Regions from separate parts of the Homo sapiens genome. Here region 2 is linked to region 1. The links are contacts of gene promoters, found by promoter capture Hi-C in human tissues and cell types (Jung and others, 2019). All regions are on one chromosome and are shown on one strand. Each heading gives the region's core, a stretch centred on a gene start or on the middle of the fragment in contact. The rest is flanking DNA. Distances are from core to core; before and after follow the strand shown. Region 1 holds the start of CLEC14A (C-type lectin domain containing 14A). Region 2 has its middle 250 kb from the start of CLEC14A.

Evidence for each region. Contacts are between HindIII fragments. The study calls those that stand out against the background at their distance.
Region 2: a contact is called between a fragment that was not itself captured here and the fragment with the promoter of CLEC14A in region 1, in 2 of the 25 tissues and cell types used here (IMR-90 fibroblasts and mesenchymal stem cells).

The regions. Positions count from the first base shown.
Region 1 is chr14:38,252,916-38,258,441 of GRCh38, reverse strand. CLEC14A (C-type lectin domain containing 14A) reads left to right here and starts at 2,349. Exons shown (of 1, transcript NM_175060.3): 1 at 2,349-4,442. The coding sequence starts at 2,420. The coding sequence ends at 3,892. It overlaps LOC112268136 (a long non-coding RNA gene), which reads right to left and starts at 2,397. Exons shown (of 5, transcript NR_169588.1): 1 at 1,997-2,397. RefSeq lists an enhancer at 2,540-3,167. The HindIII fragment of the contact is 7,223 bases long and covers 1-5,526 here.
Region 2 is chr14:38,504,692-38,510,217 of GRCh38, reverse strand. No RefSeq gene overlaps it. Among named protein-coding and RNA genes, the nearest start is that of CLEC14A, 250 kb to the right of the region's middle. The HindIII fragment of the contact is 7,274 bases long and covers 1-5,526 here.

The sequences.
Region 1 (5,526 bases), core at 1,100-3,599:
CATGTAAAAGAGCCAATAGATTCACATTTGGTATTATAAGATTTTTAGGCATTTGGAATCCAGTGGGGGTAAAATGGTTCTATATTATTATCTTAATAAATATTATTAAAAAATAGAAACTTTCCTCCATTTCTAATTTGGTCAGATAAACTGTCTATTTCAAACTAATTACAAAACTATTTACGTCCTACTTTGAGCTAATTTTTTCTAACTCTTGTGTCATTCCATGATATGGTCATGGTCATGGTCAGTACTCTCATATAGTCGTTATGGCCAATGTGTTCTCTGCTATAATCCCACTCCCCTAGACAGAATGTCAGGGAGTGAGATCATGTATTTACTTAAGCTTTCCAGCTATTCATTCTTTCTTACTGTAGACACCTCATCTCATCCCAAACGATTTTTAAAGCTATCTAAGAAATTTCCATTGACTACTTAAGTTTGAAAAAGATTTTATTAAAAATATTGCACTACATGGACACATTTACAAACACAGTCATAAGATTGCAATGGTCTATAGAGAGCTGGCCCAAGTGACTAAGTATTTTTTAAAAACCATTCAATTTGATTTCTGGATTTTCATGTTTCTTTCTTATAAGACACTAAGTTACCTAATTTAAACGCAAAGCCACGTTTAAGGTGATTCTCAGACATCTGAAGGAAGGACTAAGGAATGTTCTTTAAATTGGGAAATAGGGCAGGAGAGAAATCCTAGTGCAAAGCTCCATACTCAGCAAAAGCAAGGTAAGTATGATGATGACTCATAGGCTTACTGTTGTTTGTTAAGATACATGGAATTTCCAGGAGGAAAGAAGAATGAGAGTTATGGTAAAAATAAGATGGAAGCATACAGATGTGATCCTGAAACCTTCCCTCCCACCCCTCATCAACCTGAATGCAGTAAAACAAAGTGAGCTTATATGCATTATCCATGGAATGGCAACTTTCATTCTGATTAAAGATATTTAAAAGCATCAGACATCTCTAAGAGGGCTTAGCTGAAACTCTCTATGTATTTCTGATGGCAACGTATTTGGCCATTATGAACCAAGATAGAATGTACGTTTTCTAAACTGATACTGAATTGTCTAAGTTGCTAACAAGAAATCCTTTCATAACAGTACAGTTTTTAACCTTTACTTCTTTATTCATCTTTAATTCCTTGCCACTTCCCACTGAGTTGAAATGTTTATATTAAAACAAAACACCCACTGGAATTCTAAAGAAATTGGCTCACCCATCTTTCAAATTACAAGATATTTTTTGACAGTATACAATATTCATTATAATGGAATAAACATTTTAATTTCTTAAGGAACTCTAATTTTCCTTAAAGGAGATGTTTACAACTTACTATTATAAATGCTGCCACTCAATCATAGGAGAAAATGATACTAAAATAGTTCAAGGCTAAAATCACACATAGGGCAGTTGTTCTCGAATATTTATAAGGCCACGAACTCATTTATGTATAACCTATAAACTTGAAGAATTTTTGAACCAATACAGTGGCAAGGAAAGCTAACAACCTAACTGTTAAGATCTATGGTCATTATTTTTCATTTAGTCCTAGAAATACATTTCCTTTCTGTAATGAATCAATATGGTCTAACTCAAAGAGAAACACGTGGAAGTGAAAAATAAATTTCTAAAGCAAGTGCTGATGGAAGAAGCAGAATTTCCCATTTAAAATACCCAAACAACTCCAAATTCTTTAGTAGTTAGGACTCCTGAAATCTCTTGACATAATAGAGAAGCAAAGACCCATAGAGAGATATGCGGTTAAATAGTGCTGCCTCTGGTGGCAAAAGCAGTTGCTAAGTTGTTTCACAACATATTTTTCCCCCACAGGCACAGGCCCCCCAAACACTGGAGCCGTCTACGAATTATTCTGACGCTAACTCCACAGCTCCGGACAGAAACACAATAGACGGGCGTGGTCTTATAATCATAAGCCAGTTCCTTTCTCAAGTCCTTCCTGCCTATGTTCGCTTACGTGTTATGGGTTCTGCGGTCCTGATGAAACTCCCTGAACGGAGAAAAACCACACACTTCATCCCAGTGGCGAATTTCTCCTCTTGCTCTAAGCAGGGTGTTTGACCTTCTAGTCGACTGCGTCCCCTGTACCCGGCGCCAGCTGTGTTCCTGACCCCAGAATAACTCAGGGCTGCACCGGGCCTGGCAGCGCTCCGCACACATTTCCTGTCGCGGCCTAAGGGAAACTGTTGGCCGCTGGGCCCGCGGGGGGATTCTTGGCAGTTGGGGGGTCCGTCGGGAGCGAGGGCGGAGGGGAAGGGAGGGGGAACCGGGTTGGGGAAGCCAGCTGTAGAGGGCGGTGACCGCGCTCCAGACACAGCTCTGCGTCCTCGAGCGGGACAGATCCAAGTTGGGAGCAGCTCTGCGTGCGGGGCCTCAGAGAATGAGGCCGGCGTTCGCCCTGTGCCTCCTCTGGCAGGCGCTCTGGCCCGGGCCGGGCGGCGGCGAACACCCCACTGCCGACCGTGCTGGCTGCTCGGCCTCGGGGGCCTGCTACAGCCTGCACCACGCTACCATGAAGCGGCAGGCGGCCGAGGAGGCCTGCATCCTGCGAGGTGGGGCGCTCAGCACCGTGCGTGCGGGCGCCGAGCTGCGCGCTGTGCTCGCGCTCCTGCGGGCAGGCCCAGGGCCCGGAGGGGGCTCCAAAGACCTGCTGTTCTGGGTCGCACTGGAGCGCAGGCGTTCCCACTGCACCCTGGAGAACGAGCCTTTGCGGGGTTTCTCCTGGCTGTCCTCCGACCCCGGCGGTCTCGAAAGCGACACGCTGCAGTGGGTGGAGGAGCCCCAACGCTCCTGCACCGCGCGGAGATGCGCGGTACTCCAGGCCACCGGTGGGGTCGAGCCCGCAGGCTGGAAGGAGATGCGATGCCACCTGCGCGCCAACGGCTACCTGTGCAAGTACCAGTTTGAGGTCTTGTGTCCTGCGCCGCGCCCCGGGGCCGCCTCTAACTTGAGCTATCGCGCGCCCTTCCAGCTGCACAGCGCCGCTCTGGACTTCAGTCCACCTGGGACCGAGGTGAGTGCGCTCTGCCGGGGACAGCTCCCGATCTCAGTTACTTGCATCGCGGACGAAATCGGCGCTCGCTGGGACAAACTCTCGGGCGATGTGTTGTGTCCCTGCCCCGGGAGGTACCTCCGTGCTGGCAAATGCGCAGAGCTCCCTAACTGCCTAGACGACTTGGGAGGCTTTGCCTGCGAATGTGCTACGGGCTTCGAGCTGGGGAAGGACGGCCGCTCTTGTGTGACCAGTGGGGAAGGACAGCCGACCCTTGGGGGGACCGGGGTGCCCACCAGGCGCCCGCCGGCCACTGCAACCAGCCCCGTGCCGCAGAGAACATGGCCAATCAGGGTCGACGAGAAGCTGGGAGAGACACCACTTGTCCCTGAACAAGACAATTCAGTAACATCTATTCCTGAGATTCCTCGATGGGGATCACAGAGCACGATGTCTACCCTTCAAATGTCCCTTCAAGCCGAGTCAAAGGCCACTATCACCCCATCAGGGAGCGTGATTTCCAAGTTTAATTCTACGACTTCCTCTGCCACTCCTCAGGCTTTCGACTCCTCCTCTGCCGTGGTCTTCATATTTGTGAGCACAGCAGTAGTAGTGTTGGTGATCTTGACCATGACAGTACTGGGGCTTGTCAAGCTCTGCTTTCACGAAAGCCCCTCTTCCCAGCCAAGGAAGGAGTCTATGGGCCCGCCGGGCCTGGAGAGTGATCCTGAGCCCGCTGCTTTGGGCTCCAGTTCTGCACATTGCACAAACAATGGGGTGAAAGTCGGGGACTGTGATCTGCGGGACAGAGCAGAGGGTGCCTTGCTGGCGGAGTCCCCTCTTGGCTCTAGTGATGCATAGGGAAACAGGGGACATGGGCACTCCTGTGAACAGTTTTTCACTTTTGATGAAACGGGGAACCAAGAGGAACTTACTTGTGTAACTGACAATTTCTGCAGAAATCCCCCTTCCTCTAAATTCCCTTTACTCCACTGAGGAGCTAAATCAGAACTGCACACTCCTTCCCTGATGATAGAGGAAGTGGAAGTGCCTTTAGGATGGTGATACTGGGGGACCGGGTAGTGCTGGGGAGAGATATTTTCTTATGTTTATTCGGAGAATTTGGAGAAGTGATTGAACTTTTCAAGACATTGGAAACAAATAGAACACAATATAATTTACATTAAAAAATAATTTCTACCAAAATGGAAAGGAAATGTTCTATGTTGTTCAGGCTAGGAGTATATTGGTTCGAAATCCCAGGGAAAAAAATAAAAATAAAAAATTAAAGGATTGTTGATAACCCAGACTCAAATATCATTGCCTTCCTCCAGGAGTAATTAGGAACAGCTGAGGGCATGCTGGGAGTAAGCAGCAAGAGTGCATTCTGCTTTTAGATTGAGGGAGAGGTCCTTAAGTTCCTCGAATGAGACACAGATCTTTAAGAACTAGTAACTTTTTCATTGATTCTTTTATCCTTTCTTTTCAAAGTCACTGCTACTTGTGTGCTTTGCTATAAATCGAAAGTGTAGTGTTGCCAGAATTGCTGGCTCTGGAAGAAAATTACAGTTGACCACCAGTTCAAGTGTTTACTTTATGTCCATGCCCAAGGAAAACACATAATTTGCGTTTTCCCTTTCCAGTGTTTGTGCTTTCCAGCGTAATGACCTCCCCAAGCAAATAGCCCTCTCCTGAACATCAAGATGCTCATCCTCATCTTCAATTATGGTGATGTTAATTCTCAATTAAAATGTTAATGCTAAGTATTGATTTGCAATCTTCTGGTTGCATCAAAGAAAAAGTAAGCTGGTTTTCCTCCAAAGTTGCTAAGTTCTTGTGCATTTTTCAACCCATGGAAAAACTTGAACACCAAGCCATTTTCTTTTTCTCTTGATAAGAATGTGTGCAATAACAATACTTGCTCATTTTGGAGTGATTATAATCTTACAAGTGTTTACATGGGCAAAGGCATGGTAAACAGTTTACCATAAGAAATAATAGTATAAGAAATAAGTGACAAATTTTAAAAAATCTATCATCTTGTTATAACTGGGGGGTATTAGAAAGTAATCTAAATGAAGCACTCCCATGAAAAATAATTAAGACATAATAAAAATCACTGCCTCGTGGAATCAAAGTCCCTAGAAGATATCCCACTTTTATTAGTACGCTGAGACTTTAAAACTAAGAGTGTGGGGGTTGGTGCATGCAGAGAGGCAGAGAAACAAGCTTAGTAACAGGGAGGAATGAAAACAGAAGCTTACACTTTATTTTCACAGAATTATTTTAATGTTTTTGAGTGTACAATGTATACAATGGAAAATAGACTTACAAGTCGTAAGTGACCAATTATAAAATATTACTAAAAAATTAAAACAGCTCAATCCATAAATTCATTTCCTAAATATAAATATATATATTTAGTATTATAACATTAAAAGAATGAAACAATAGGTAATTTGCCTCATATACTAAATATGTTTCTAAATAGTTAC
Region 2 (5,526 bases), core at 1,353-3,852, 250 kb before region 1:
CCCATCTGATGAGAATTTATGGTTTGTAGGGTATGACTCCCTAGACCCCCTAGGTAGGAATTTGGGCAAGGTAGAAAATCAGAGCTTAGTCCTCAGTACCTAGCAATTAGCAACAAGGTGCTGTTACCAGTTCTATGCCTAAAAGGGCAAGGAGAGGGAGGAGAATTATTGAAACTTGGTGAGAGATCTAGTGGCTGATATTGTTTGGATGTGTCCTCACCCATATCTTATCTTGAATTGTAGTTCCCATAATCCCCACATGTCGTGGAAGGGACCCTGTGGGACGTAATTGAATCACAGGTGTGGTTACCCCCCATGCTTTTCTCATGATATTGAGTAAGTTATCATGAGATCTGATGTTTTATAAAGGGCTTTTCCCCCTTTGCTAGGCACTATCGTTCCTGTTGCCAGGTGAAGAAGGATGTATTTGCTTCCCCTTCCACCATGATTCCAAGTTTCCTGAGGCCTCCTCATTCCTGCGGTACTGCAAGTCAATTAAGCCTCTTTCCTTTATAAATTACCCAGTCTCGGGTATTTCCTCATAGCAGCATAAGAACAGACTACTATAGTAAATTGGTACTGGGAGGTAGTGGGGTGCTGCTATAAGGATACCCAAAAATGTGGAAGCAGCTTTAGAGCTAGGTAACAGGCAGAGGTTGGAACAGTCTGGAGAGCTCAGAAGAAGACAGAAAAATGTGGGAAAGTTTGGAACTTCCGAGAGACTTGTTGAGTGGCTTCGACCAAATTGCTGATAATGATATGGACGATGAAGTCCAGCTAAGGTGATCTCACATGAGATGAGGAACTTCTTGGGAACTGGAATAAAGGTGATTCTTGCTATGCTTTAACAAAGAGACGGGTGGCATTTTGCCACTGTACTAGAGATTTGTGGAACTTTGAACTTGAGAGAGATGATTTAGGGTAGCTGGTGGAAGAAATTTCTTAGTGGCAAAGTGTTCAAGAAGCAGCAGAACATAAAAAACATAAAACTTTGGAAAATTTGTAGCCTGACAATGTGATAGAAAAGAAAAACCCATTTTCTGGGGAGAAATTCAAGCTGGCTGCAGAAATTTGCATAAGTAGCAAGGAGCCTAATGTTAATTCCCAAGACCATGGGGAAAATGTCTCCAGGTTATGTCAGATACCTTCACAGCAGCCTCTCCCATCACATGTCCAGAGCCTAGGAGAGAAAAATGGTTTCCTGGGCTGGGGGCCTCAATGCTCTGTGCAGCCTCAGGACCTGGTGCCCTGCATCCTAGCTGTTTCAGCTCCAGCTGTGGCTAAAATGGGCCATCATACAGCTCAGGCTGTTGCTTCAGAGGGTGCAAGTTCTATGCCTTGGCAGCTTTTGCATGGTATTGGGCCTGCAGGTACACCAAAGTCAAGAATTGAGGTTTGGGAACCTCTGCCTGGATTTCAGAGGATGTATGGAAACATTTGGGTGTCCAGGCACAAGTTTGCTGCAGGGGTGGAACCTTAATTGAGAACCTCTACTGGGGCAGTGTGGAAGGGAAATATCAGTTGGAGCACCCACACAGAGTCTCCTCTGGGGCACTGCCTAGTTGAGCTGTGAGAAGAACGCTACCTTCCTCCAGACCCCAGAATGGTACATCCACTGCCAGCTTGCACAGTGGGCTTGGAAAAGCCTTAGACACCCAACACCAGCCTGTGAAAGCAGCCAGGATGGGGCTGTACCATGCAAAGCCACAGGAATGGAGCTGCTCAAGGCTGTGGGGGCCCATCTCTTAGATCAGCATGACCTGGATGTGAGACATGAAGTCAAAGGATATTATTTTGAAACTTTAAGGTTTAATAATTGCCCTACTGGATTTTGGACTTTCATGGGCCTATAGCCCCCTTGTTTTGACTGATTTCTCCCATTTGGAATGGGTGTATTTACCCAGTGCCTGTACCCCAACTGTATGTAGGAAGTAACTAACTTGCTTTTGATTTTACAAGCTCGTAGGTGGAAGGATCTTGCCTTGTCTCAGGTGAAACTTTGGACTTGGACTTTTGGGTAAATGCTGGAGTGAGCTAAGACTTTCGGGGACTGTTGGAAAGTCATGATTATGTTTTGAAATGTGAGGATGAGATTTGGGAGGGGCCAGGGGTGGAATAATATAGTTTGGCTGTGTCCTCACCTAAATCTCCTTTTGAATTATAGTTCCCACAATCCCCCCATGTCATGGGAGAACCTGGTGGGAGGTAATTGAATCATGGGGACGGTTACCCTCGTGCTGTTCTTCTGATAGTGAGTGAGTTATCACAAGATCTGATGGTTTTATAAAGGGTTTTCCTCCCTCTGCTGGGCACTTCTTCCTCCCACCACATGACGAAGGATGTATTTGCTTCTTCTTCCACCATGATTATAAGTGTCCTGAGGCTTCTCTAGTCCTGTGGAAATGTGAGTCAATTAAACCTCTTTCCTTTATTCATTACCTAGTTTTGGGTATTTCTTCATAGCAGCATGAAAACAAACTAATACAGTGGTAGATGAGAGGCCACCTTATATAGAGGAACCAAGCCACTGCCAAAATCACAGCCTAGCAGAGAGGGTGTGGGGGTTTTAATAAACACTTGCATTCTCATCCTGCCTTCTGATCTTCTCTTGGCACCTTTACTGAAACCATTTAGAAGTTGGAGGGCAAGAAAGAGCCTAGGTTACATTCCAAAGAGCTTAGCATTCTGTGACACAGAACAAAGTAGAGAAGGGCTGAAACTGGAGCTGCTGAGGGATCAGTGGAGAACAAGTACCTCAAACTCTATTTTGGGTATCTTGAGCTATCAACCCAATTATAGCTACTTTGGATTTTAGTCAATTCAAGTTAGGATTGAATAAGTAGATAAAAGCTCAAGCACCCAAGCATGGCATTTGGGGACCTTTGCAATTGACTCCCAAACTTCCTTTCTAATTGTATTTACTGCTATTCTCCACATAAATCTTTGCTCTAGTCAAGCTAACCCGCCCTCAACTATTCCCTAAGCTTGTTTTGCTCATTATTGCCTCTGTCTTTGTTGCCATTCTTCTTATCTGAACTATTTTCCTTCATTTTCTCTAGCTAAATTCAATTTGTCTTTTGAAGCCACATGACAGAGGTCCTAAATCCTTTGGAAAAATTCCTTTTTCCATCCTTAGTGGGTGATTCTTCCTTTGCCATTCTATGGCACTTAATTTCTGTCATTCATTAAAAGTACACCTTATACTATATGTCAGTTGTTTTCTTTAATAGCTATCCAATGTCTTCATTTGGATCATCCGTAGTAGATAAATTTCATCTTGGATGCTGATTGCAAGCATTGAGAAGGACTCCGAGGTAACCCTGGAGATCAGCAGGATATTATACTCACATTTATTAGAAATATCTGCACTGGCCCAGGAGATGTGAATAATGGCATGTCTGCTACATATTTGCCATTCTCGAATTATAGTACATTTGGGTCCTATGCATCTGCAGATCCAACCAACCAAGGATCAAAAATATTTTAATAAATAAATAACAATACAACAGTAGGAATACAAATAAAAATGCAGTAGAACAACAATTTACACAGTATTTATATTGTATTAGCTGTTATAAGCAATCCAGAGATGATTTAAAATATATGGGGGGATGTGCATAGATTATATGCAATTACTACATCATTTTCATAGAGGCCTTGAGCATCTGTGGATTTCGGAATTTGTGGGGGTCCTGGAAACAGTCTCCTGTGGATACTGAGGGACAACTGTTAAGCTTTTAGATGGTTAGAATGTGATTTGTTCATCTGTGTACCCTCTGTAGCTACCTCAGTGCCTTGTGTAAAGCTGACGCATAATAAATATTTGTTGATTGTTTTGGTTATCTAAGAACTTATGCAAATGAAGGATCTAGTGTCAGTGAAAAATGTTGAACACAGAACAAGAAGTTTTATTCTTTCAGCTTTCTTCTTTAAGAACATTCTTTGACATTCTGGGGTAAAATCATAGTTGGAGAATGTGCAGCTAAAGGTTAAATTGGCTCTCAAAATATCTTCTTTGTAGTAGTAAAATAAAGTACTGATGCTGAGGTCAGAAGAGCAAAGTAAAAGAAAATGATGGCTGAGTACTACAAAGGGAGATAACTGTGAGTGGCTCATTATCATAAGGCTGCTTCTAAAAGCTGGCTCATTGATTTAATGATCATGCCATACGTTGAGCTGCTGAATGTTCACTGCAGTTAAAAAGAGATTTGTCCTCATCAAAGAAGTGGGGAAATGCAATTCCAGCATACAGTTTGTAAGCCAAACTTTGAGTCATAAAATTCAAAATGATTTATTAGTTATGCCCTCATGCTTTTGTCTAACCTTTCCTTAAAATGTAAGTCCCATGTATTGTTAGAACTCCCTTTTCCTCCGTATTCAATCTTATCTCCTTCTTGCATGATTATTCAGTAGAATTTATCCTCTTCCATAGGCCTAGTAACACTTTTTGTTTACTGGGATGCTGCTAGGACTGGAATTTTGTGGTCAGCAATAATTACCACGTATGAGAAGTTTATTAACATTTGCTGCCTGGATCAAGGGATTTTATTTTATTGTTGGTATTGAAGTAGGGAAATGAATACCTCAAGGATTTGCATATTTAGTCCATTACTAAGCAAATGACATAAAAATATATTTTGGTGGATTCAAAATAAAATGTAATCTCAGTTTATTTTTTTTGGAGAGCAGGTGTCCAGGGCCAAATCACATTGCTGTAGGATTAAGAATGTTGTTTATGTTACACTGATATTTGCTGTGTTTTTAATGCTTTCCCAAAATGATTTCTTCTCAAGTAAAAAATGCTGAGAAAGCTTGAATACCAGATGCCTAAGGGAGAGTTCAAAACATCAACAGCATCACACAGACACACACACACACACACTCTCTAATACTGGTATGTGTGTGAACATAAGCATTGTAAGTTTGCTTTTGCTATTAATGACTAGCATGGAGCTGGGCTATTTGCCACAATCAAAATGGAAAACTGAGAACTCTTGACACTTCTCATCAATTTGATCTTTTCCATTTCCTCAAGCTAATGAGGGCGATGGTTTTATTTGACACTAAAATATTTAGGAAATGTCTTAATTTAACAATGTGACAAGATGACTTAAGGTTAAGATAGAAGAAGAATGTGGTTCTTTAATGAAAGCAAATGTATTTCTAAGAAGCCTAAACATAGTTCATCTTGTCCTGTTGTGTATTTCAATATGAATGCCCTGTAATAATTAATGTTTAGAAGCATAAAATAAGGGAAAAAGTTGCGCCCCAAACTCTTAAGAAATTTTATGTTTCTGTGAAATATTTCCTTATGTTACTTGTCTCTTGATTTAAATGTGAAACAAATTTCAGTTCTCTAAACGAAGATACTTGCTAGCCTTACTAGGGTGAACTAGACATATAAAATTTGTTGTGAAAAGCTACAAGCAAAGCAATATGCAGTTTTGTGAAGGTCAGTGCAATGAATCCATAATATATCCACACATTACTGTCATCTCATTAGCTTTTGGTGGTAAGGACACGGTG